2 separate regions of the Homo sapiens genome follow, and region 1 is linked to region 2. The links are contacts of gene promoters, found by promoter capture Hi-C in blood cells and fetal thymus (Javierre and others, 2016). All regions are on one chromosome and are shown on one strand. Each heading gives the region's core, a stretch centred on a gene start or on the middle of the fragment in contact. The rest is flanking DNA. Distances are from core to core; before and after follow the strand shown.

Evidence for each region. Contacts are between HindIII fragments. The CHiCAGO score rates a contact against its expected background, and 5 or more counts as called.
Region 1: a contact is called between a fragment that was not itself captured here and the fragment with the promoter of TBRG1 in region 2, in 3 of 17 cell types (erythroblasts, total B cells and naive B cells). The highest score is 7.7, in erythroblasts.

The regions. Positions count from the first base shown.
Region 1 is chr11:124,100,114-124,105,307 of GRCh38, forward strand. It overlaps the pseudogene OR10N1P. Among named protein-coding and RNA genes, the nearest start is that of VWA5A, 13 kb to the right of the region's middle. The HindIII fragment of the contact is 1,717 bases long and covers 647-2,363 here.
Region 2 is chr11:124,619,282-124,624,340 of GRCh38, forward strand. It overlaps TBRG1 (transforming growth factor beta regulator 1), which reads left to right and starts at 3,583. Exons shown (of 9, transcript NM_032811.3): 1 at 3,583-3,952. The coding sequence starts at 3,803. It overlaps LOC124902779 (a long non-coding RNA gene), which reads right to left and starts at 3,920. Exons shown (of 2, transcript XR_007062932.1): 1 at 1-3,920. It overlaps PANX3 (pannexin 3), which reads left to right. Exons shown (of 4, transcript NM_052959.3): 4 at 15-1,075. The coding sequence ends at 654. RefSeq lists an enhancer at 3,660-3,729. The HindIII fragment of the contact is 1,322 bases long and covers 3,376-4,697 here.

The DNA.
Region 1 (5,194 bases), core at 255-2,754, 520 kb before region 2:
TAAGGGCTAGGAAGAAGTGCTGTGGATTGAAAAGCTATCGTGGTAGAGTATTTGTATCCTACTCATGTTCCTCTTTCATATCAGTAAATTAAATATGTATCCACATCATGATTTATATGGCTAGCTGATGTTCCCTGAAGGTAGAAGGGGACTTCCCTGAGAAACTGTTATCCCAGCTGAGATCTGAAAGTGAAAACCTTTCTAGGCGGGGGTAATAGCATGCGCAAAGCCTTCATTGGAAAGATGTAAAGTATATTTGAAGAACTTGAGGAAAGAGAGGAAAAAAATTGAGATAAAACTTGAGAGGCAGAAAAGCAAATGATGACTAAAGGCTCTGCTCTTTAAAGATTGCGATCTCTACATTAGGGGGCTTAAGAAAATGTAAGACAGTTTTAAGCAGCATTGAGTTTCGGCACATTGTGGAAGAGAGAATGTGAAAGATAATTCTAGCTACAGTCAGGAGAGCAGTTGTAGGGCGCAAGAGCACCTTCAGGGAGACAAATAAGGAAGATCACTGGGCTATAGAATTTTGAGATATTTGGTCAGGAAAAAAAGAGGAAAGATAATCACTAGGGCAGAGAAATGCTGCGGGGAATGTGTGTGGGTTAAGGCCCTGCTTTAGCCTCGTGTGACAATGTCAGAACAAAGCTTCATTTTCTGCCTTACGTTTCTATACCTGAATGTGCACTACAAACCATGTTTTAACTCTAATTATCAGGTAAAGCCCCACACGGTATCTTCTGGGAATACCCAGAGGATTAGAACCAACAGAGGATAGTAACAAGATAAGAATGAGCATAATCGTACCCCACTCTGTGGGATTCGAATATTTTATTACAAATGAGTTTTCTCTCAGATGAGCTTTCACGCATCTGAGAGATTGAAAGGAAAAAAAGAAGTTGGGGTAAGTTTTTTTTTGAGGGGGGTGTGGAAGGCCAAATGTTTATTTCTAAAGTTTCATCAAATTTGCTGTATTGTGCATAGCTGCATGAAGATCTGAGACAGATTCCCATCTACATCCACAAACTAATTGTGTGGCTTAAAGAAAATTACCTAACATCCCTAAATCTCATTTCATCTTCTGTAAAATGATCTCATAGAACTCATAGGTAAATTACATTAGATAATATATAAAAAGCAATTACGCAGTGCCTGGTGAGGAATAAGGACTCAATGAATGGTAACTTATTACTCTAGGCAGATCTTCTGAAAAGCTACCTTAGACTACACTTCTCAAACTCTTTCTCTGCCCACACCAAATGGAGGTATAAAAAATAAAGAAATAGTGATTTGAGAGGGTTCAACTACAGTAGACGTAGTTACAGGAAAAAGGAGATAACTAATAAGCCACAGAATGTGCGAAAACTGCATAAGCAAACTTTAAAAAAAATGTAGGCCAGGTGTGGTGGCTCACATCTGTAAGCCCAGTACTTTGAAAGGCCAATATGAGAGGATCACTTTAGCCCAGGAGTTTGAGACCAGCCTGGGGGCAACATAATGAGATCTCATCTCTAAAAGAAATTTCAAAAATTGTCTGGATGTGGGGTGCACACCTATAGTCCCAGATGCTCTGGAGGCTGAGGTGGGAGGATCTCTTGAGTGGGGAGGTCCAGGCTATAGTGAACCATGATTGCACCACTGCACTCCAGCCTCGGTAACAGAGCAAGATTCTGTCTCAGAAAAAGAAAATTGTGGTAAAATACACAAAGCATAAAATTTAACATCTTAACCATTTTGAAATATATAGTACAGTAGTGCTAAGTTTATTTACATTGTTGCTTGACTATCTACATTGTTGCTCAACTAATCTCCTGGACTTTTTCATCTTGCAGAACTGAAACTCTATTACCATTAAACAACTTCTCCATTTCCTTCCAACATCTGTGGCTCCTGGGAACCAGCATTCTAATTTCTTTTTCCATGAATGTGACTACCCTAGGTACCTCATGTTACTGGATTTAAACAGTCTTTTTGTGACTGGCTTATTTCACTTAGCATAATGTCCTTGAGGCTTATCCATGTTGTGGCATGTGTCAGAACTTCCTTTCTTTTTAAGTCTGGATAATGTTTTGTTGTGTGTATATACCACATTTAGTGTATCCATTCATTGAATGAATACTGGGTTGCTTTCGACTCTTGCCTATTGTGATTAATGCTGCTAGGAACGTGGGTGTACAAATGTATCTTCAAGACCCTGCTTTTATTTCTTTTGTATGTATAGCAAGAGCTGGAATTGCTGGATCATATGGTAATTCTGTTTTTACTTTTTTAAGAAAATACAATACTGTTTTCCATATCATCTGCACCATTTTACATTCTCGTCATTAGTGTACAAGGGTTCCAATTTATCACATCATAGCCCAAGCTTATTACTATTGTAATTTTTAAAATAGTAGCCATCCTTATTGAAGTGATATGTCATTGTGGTTTTAATTTGCATTTCCTCAATGCTCAGTGATATTGAACATCTTTCCATATACTTATTTGCCATTTGTGTCTCTTCTTTGGATAAATGTCTATTTAAGTCCCTTACCCATTTTTCAATCAGGTTATTTGCTTTTGTTGCTGTTGTTGTTAATGAGGTAAGATTTTAAAAAGTGAATATGTGTGTCTGTGTGTGTTTATGTATGTGTGCACATGTGTTTTAAATAAAATCTCATGTTGTGTGCTTTTAGATATAGGAAAGATTTAAATGGTTAAAGTTTCTCTTTTCAGTGCCAGTCATTGCAAGACTAATTTAGAAAAAGCCAAAAAGTTGGTCATTCAGATTTTGTTTTTTATATATCATCAGTTTTACCTAAACATGAATATATATTTAAATTCAGACATAATATTATTCTGTATCTTAATTATTTCGCACACGTTCCTCTGTATCGATAAATATACAATTGCATCACAATTTGAATGGGTAAAGAGCTATCCATTCATTCATTCAGCAAACCTACACTGGAAGCTTACTATGTCACTGGGCTATGTCCTATGGATACAATGGTGAGCAAGACACACATAATCCCTACTTTTATGAAACTTTCCATTGTCTAGAAAAGAAATCTGTTATAGAAGTATCAGTGTGTTGAACATCTGTCCCTAAACACTATTCAGGCTTTACCAGATATCATGACATGTAGATTCTTCTACAAATACCCTGCACTAGTAGAACAGCAAACTAACACTAGGGTTATTTGAATCCAGCATATCATCTCTGATAGGCATCTCCAAAGTGTGGGAATAAGATGCTATGACATCTTGGATTTTTGCCAATCAAGTTAGGAGGAGCCATAGAATCCTCCTATTGCAATAAAACCGTTTAACTATGCTTGAAGGAGCTTCATTTTATCCTTTTTGCTTCATGCTATTTGTAAAGTAAGCATTTTTATTAGAGATTTTTACTTGTTTTTGTTTACTGGTTTCAAATACGAAGGGAACTTTGGGGACTATAAATGGAATAGAAAAACTACAAATAACTAAAATGTCATGGAAACTAGGAGCTGGCGTGTCTGTGGGATCCCCAATTAATAGTACCATTTCTTTCACTTTAGATTCTGAGAAAGTCGAGAAACAGTTATCAACTCCAGTCTTGTTGGAAGTTAAGTTACAAAAAGTAACTTGCTGGGAGAATCAAATGAGCATGCCAATTAAGCCCCATAATTAGACCATCTTGTCTTCAACAACACTGGATGGAAAGACTTTCCCCCTGCGTTTACACTAAAGAGTATTTTGACATATTGGCAGTGTGATGCAGTAGGAAAACCATGACACAGTAGGACTTAAGAGGGCTTGTGTCTAGGGCTGGCTTTAGCATAACTGAATGTAGTACACAAGGAAGACACTTATTGCTGTATCTCAGTTCCACCATCTGCAGGTGGGAATATTGGGTAGTAGAATAGAGTAAGTGGAGATAATAATAAAGTCAATACAGTTGTCCTTCAGTATCCTCAGAGCATTGGTTTTAGGACCCTCATAAATACCACGATCCAAGTATACTCATGTCCCTTATTTAAAATGGTGTAGTGTTTGCATATAACCTATGCACATCCTCCTGTATACTTTAAATCATCTCTAGATTACTTATAATACTTAATACAATGCCTACCACCATTTCATGCACATGAATTCAATGTAGTACTCAAGCGAGGCAAATTCAAATTTTGCTTTTTGGAACTTTGTAAAATTTACTTTCTGAATATTTTTGATCCACAATGGTTGAATTCACAAAGGCAGAACCCATGAATATTGAGGGATGACTGTATATAGACATAACCTATGTCAGTACTTATTTTACCAGTTATTTATCAGACAACTTCTTTGTATCATGAGCTCTGGAGAGAGGTAATTAGGATGAGTAAATTGCAGGATGAGTAAAAAGAGGTCACTTAGGGTAGCTATGTGGTACAGGAATCTATAGCAGGGAGGTGATTTGGAGTTAACAGGAGCTGAGTTTGAGGTCTGATTTGCTGCTTAATGTGTAACCTTGGGTTCATTATTTGAAATATTTAATCCTCAAAACTCTTTTCTACATTATGTAAAATCTACTTTATAGGGGTGATGTGAAGATTTAATAAGATGATGTACGTGAAATGCTCATCACAATGCCCAGAAGACAGATCATGCTCTATGAATGTTAGTTAATATTCTTCTTCACAAGGTGGAAGAACTGAAATTCTTATAGGCAGAAAAGGGGAACAATTATATTTTAATTGGAGCAAAAAGTAAGGTAAAATTGAATGTTGATTTGGACAGAGAGGAACTATTGAAGGGTGCTTCTTGGACTGCTACAGATCCTCTTTATCCTCAACCAGGAAATATTGGCTACCTATTACAGGGACAAAAAATCTATCTCCAAGTGCTTGCTATGCCCTTTGGATTCCTTATCCAGAACTAAGAGACAAAGAATAATGTTAATTATGACATTTATTCCCAATAATAACTCATAATTTATTCACAAACAGTAAGTAAAACATTTCAGAATACTCTTTTCAGGGACCTTTTCACTTCCTTGTTCCTTAAGGAATAGATTAACGAGTTCAGCATGGGTGAGACAACATTATTTAATATTTGCACCTGGCACCAAGCAAGGGGTTGGGTGTGGACTTCAGATAGATGATGATTACAGGTCCATAGGCACAGAGGATTGCAACAAGGTGAGCACTGCAGGTGGAGAAGGCTTTCTGCCTGCCCTCTGATGAGCGGATTC
Region 2 (5,059 bases), core at 2,333-4,832:
CTTCCACTGCCCAGGGCTCGGAAAGAACGATACTTTGAATTCCCTTTGCTAGAGCGGTACCTGGCATGTAAGCAGCGTTCACATTCGCTAGTGGCTACCTACCTCCTGAGGAACTCCCTCTTGCTCATCTTCACCTCCGCCACTTACCTATACCTTGGTCATTTCCATCTGGATGTCTTCTTCCAGGAAGAATTCAGCTGCTCCATCAAGACAGGGCTGCTAAGTGATGAGACCCATGTCCCCAATCTGATCACATGCAGGCTGACATCACTGTCCATTTTCCAGATTGTTAGCCTCTCCAGTGTAGCAATATACACCATATTGGTTCCAGTGATAATATACAACCTCACACGGCTATGTCGGTGGGACAAACGACTTTTATCTGTCTATGAGATGCTCCCAGCTTTTGATCTCCTCAGCAGAAAGATGCTAGGATGTCCCATCAATGACCTCAATGTGATCCTTCTTTTCCTCCGAGCTAACATCTCTGAGCTCATCTCTTTTAGCTGGCTGAGTGTCTTATGTGTGTTGAAGGATACAACCACCCAGAAGCACAATATTGACACAGTAGTTGATTTTATGACTTTATTGGCTGGCTTAGAACCCTCAAAACCCAAACACCTCACCAACTCGGCATGTGATGAACACCCATAGTTAAGAAACCATGGAGCAAGAAAGCTTGTGGAAAGTCTCTCTCCTTCCTCATAAGACATGCACACTAATACACATACACACCAAAAAATTACACATTTTAAAACTGCTAAGCTTGGATTTAACTGAATCATATATCTTTTATCATGTTATCCTAAAAGTGAGAAGACATAACCAAGACATGGAAATAAATGTGAAAGCTGGAGCCGAAGAGTCAAAGAGCTAAAAAATTAAGTCTAGAACATTCTATGAGGATAGTATAAATAAAAAGAAATACAGTCTAGACATGCTGCAAGGAAAGAAGATTCTAAAGTCCGTTTATGGAGGCAATTCCATATCCTTTCTTGAACGCACATTCAGCTTACCCCAGAGAGCAAGTGAGGCAATCTGGCAAAAGATTAATAAAGATGTAAACCCCTGGAAACCCTTTGGTGTGGCCTGAAATCCTAGGAATTTACCCAGCTTGCTTTGTAGAAGTTATCAACCTTGTCCAAGTCCTCTGTAGCCTCCAAAGTGCTGGGAGATGATGGCTTCAATTTGTAATCTGCTCTTAGGATGTAAGGACATAGTAGAACAAGGCTGGGGCCATGTCTCAGCCGTGAGTGGAGCCTTCAGGTGCCCAGATACACTTTTCACCATCTAAACCAGGAACTCATTTCACCAGGGGCTGGGATTATGGGCTATGGACTTCTTCACAACTGTTAACGGAGCCAGGTATGCTTTTAATACTCCAGAGGATACTATGCCTTCCCTTACAGCTAATCACTGAATAGCAAGCACTTACAAATGGGTAGACAGTAAAGTGCTATTGAACTTCTTTCTCTTCTGATTTATTACCCTATTTTAGCTTCTAACTCCCATTCCTATGCCTGTAGTTAATGGAACTTTGGTCTGACTTCAAAGACCACACTCAGACACAATATCATGCTGTCTGCCATTTTATATTTCTTTTTAGAGCTACACATTATGCATTTCTTTAAAGAATTTTTGCATAGGCCATTTAGACCCTTCTTCGTATAGTTAAGTAGAAAAGTTGTGTTGCTTCTGACAGATTCAGGTAAGTTTACCTAACACAAGCAAAGAGCTGATAGATGGTTTCCTATTGTCACTGGGTCAAAGTCCAACTCTTCAGTTGGTACACAAGACTTTTCATGACCCAAAAAACCCTACTTACTGCTTCAGTCTCTCTTCTTGCTTCTCTCTACACACATCTTTCACACTGATCAACTACTTGCAGTTCCCATACTGAGCCTTTGCATATGCTGTCTCCACCATCCAGCATGCCCCCCTTTGTTCTTCACTGGGCCAACCAACCACTACCTCTCCTTCAGAGTCTGCCCAGATGTATCTCCTTTAAGAAACCTTTCCTATCTCCTCCCTCCTTCCCTGAGTGCTGCCAAATAAAATAAAACCTACCTCTGAAACAAACTTATTATACCATATTAACATTGCCAATTTACTTGTCTGTCTTTCCTTCTTAAATTAAGGTTCTTAAAGGTGGTATCATAATAGGCACTAGGTAAATATTCTTCTAAACAAATAAGGACTGAATGAGTTGCTCAGTGGCATGACCTTTGTGGAGCACACATATCCAGCCTCTGAACAGTCCTATATGGAAAAAGCTTTGGACGCAAAGATATGCTTTTAATGGAATTGACCAAAAAGTCAAAGAACATGGAAATAATTATGCAAAATATAATATAGCCATAACTGGAATATTAACCAGCCACTTAAAATTATGCTTATAAGGAAGCTATACTAACATTTGTGAAACTGAAATGATACAATGGTAAATGAACAAAAAGAAAACTTTATTTTCAGTATTGTCTAACCTATACAAAAATGCATAAAATATTAGACACATATACTAACATGGTAAAAGTAGTTCATTCCAAGTGGTAGCATTATGGATTTTTAAACCTTTCTTGTACTATATTTTCTAAATTTCTAAAGTTCGAATGAAATGTTTTGTAAGTGTAAGGAAATGTGTCCAATGAAGAAGAAACAAAAAATATCTTCATGCAAATCCCACTAAAGTCCATTGGCCAAAACAGCCTGCAAACTAGGACAAAGGATAGCACTTTTCTTCCCCCTAGATGTGATACATGTATATGAAAATAAATAATACAAATAAAGTCAGACCCCAAAGCCCGCAAGGACAAAATACAGCAGAACAGCAAATTTTTTTTTTGAGAGAAAAAACTAGAGAGTTACTGAACTAGTTATTGGCATCGCTGGAAGAAGATGCAAGCAAGCCTTCTGCCATCCAGCCTGGGTCACTTACCAATACCGCACCCTAAAGATTTTTCTATCTTCCCTAATTTTAAATAGACCTTGGTTGTAAAGTTAGAACCATATACATGTACATATTATGTACAGAAATACACTTCTGGTTTCACTAGACAAACATTTACTGAGTGCCTACTTAGTGCTAGTATTAAAACTGCGTGTTAAATCTCTCATCTTCCCTACTAGAAAGAGCCAAGGCCTTTCTTCCTGTTCACTACTGTGTTCCCAGCTCCTGGGAAGATGATAGCATTAGGAGGCCCTGCAAACACATTTCTGTGAGCTGCAGAAAGGAACGAAGCAGGGAAAGAAGCAGAGTCCCAGCACTTGGGCTCACTTTGTCCTACAGTCTGGGAAAGCCTGTCTGCACGAAGCATGAAAAACGTATTAAAACGCAGTGGCCCAGCGGGGGAGCGTGAATGAGAGCTCGCATTGGTAAGCTTCTTGTTAGTTCGTTGGTTCAACTATAGTACCCTTCAGCTAAGCACACGGCCGCCGGCCCTCCCTCCTCTCCTCATCCAGCACTAGCCCCCAGCTGTCTCTTTCCTCCCGGTGCCCACGATCGCACCGCCCAGACCACCCTACTCTCCCTGCCCCGGAAGTTACACACTGCCGACACCGGGACGTAACTTCCGGGAAGGGCTTACTTCCAAGACAGACACGGAAGTGCTGGGAGGCGCCGGGAGCCCGTTCGGTTGCGGGTGTCTCTGGCCCTGCGGTCAGCCCTGGGAACGTCCCGGAGAGCTAGATTCCTAGAGGCCCGATTCCGCTAGCCCGGAACAGACAAAGCCAGCGCTCCCGCCCGCTCCCCGACTTAGGATCCGATGCCGGCAGCGTCCTGGGGCCCCCGTAGCGGGGCTGGACCATGAGCCTGCTGGACGGCCTCGCTTCCTCGCCGCGGGCTCCGCTGCAGTCCAGCAAGGCCAGGATGAAAAAGCTCCCGAAGAAGAGCCAGAATGAGAAGTACCGGCTGAAGTACCTGCGGCTGCGCAAAGCGGCCAAGGCCACGGTGTTTGTGAGTCTGACCCACGTTCAGCCGGTCCCCTCCTGGAGACTCCCTCACAAAATCTTTCCCCAAGCTGTTCCCCCTTCCCAGTGTGACAGTATTAATACAGTGTTGGCTTTTCCGTATACGTTACTACTTGTTAGCCTTGTGTCCTTGGACAAATTACGTAATTTCTCTGTGTCCTCATCTGTAAATGAGCTAGTAACTGTCTTGCAGAATAATGAATATTAAATGAGTAAAGAAAAGTGCTTGGTGCGTAAAAGACATACCAATAAATTTTAGTCATCGTTGTTACTGCAGGACTCTAGGAAATGTGTTTGATTCTCGAGATACAGCCCTGAGAATTAGGCATTATTTGTAAAATGAGAACACTGAAGCCCAGAGAGATGATTTGCCCAAGGGTACTGTGTCAGAGCCCTGACTCCAACTTAGATAAACCTGATTCCGTTTTATGACTTCCAGTACACAGACTATTTTCTGAGCACCTCAAATCCCCATAACTGACCCTTTGCCCAAAGAGGTACATGAAACTGTCAGTAATTTCCCCCCTCTAACCTTTGAGTGTTCCAAGTGTTTCTTCCTTTCTTTTATTGTAGAAGCACTGGATTTATTGAGTGAATAAACTTAATATAGCTTGCCAGCCATAACTTTATATTAGAATAGTTTGGCTTGCCTCAGTGCTTGGAAATAGGGGTGGAGTCCTCAAATGTCCCCCCACATCCAAGTCAACAGTTCATCTCTTCTCTCTACCAAAAGCTTGAACGTCTCTCAGCATTTTTGGAAGCATAAGGAAAGGTTCAGAAATTAGAATACACATTCCAAAAGCACTTATTCAGCACTTGCTATGTGTATTGCTTGCTATTTGCACTGGAGAGAAACAAGAAAAGTAAAACTAAGAGAACTTAGCATCTGATTGACTGTTCCCTTTCTTTTATCCCCTATACGTCAAAGGTACCTAAAGCTTGGAATTTATGTTATTTCAAGGATATTGGTTCCATCAAATACATAATGAAGATTTTGTGAAGAAAAAGCGATGTTGTTTTGAACATTGAGAGTTTGAAGTTCCACCTATGGGGGCATTCAGATTCAGCATTCCCTTCAGGATTGGTGCTTGGG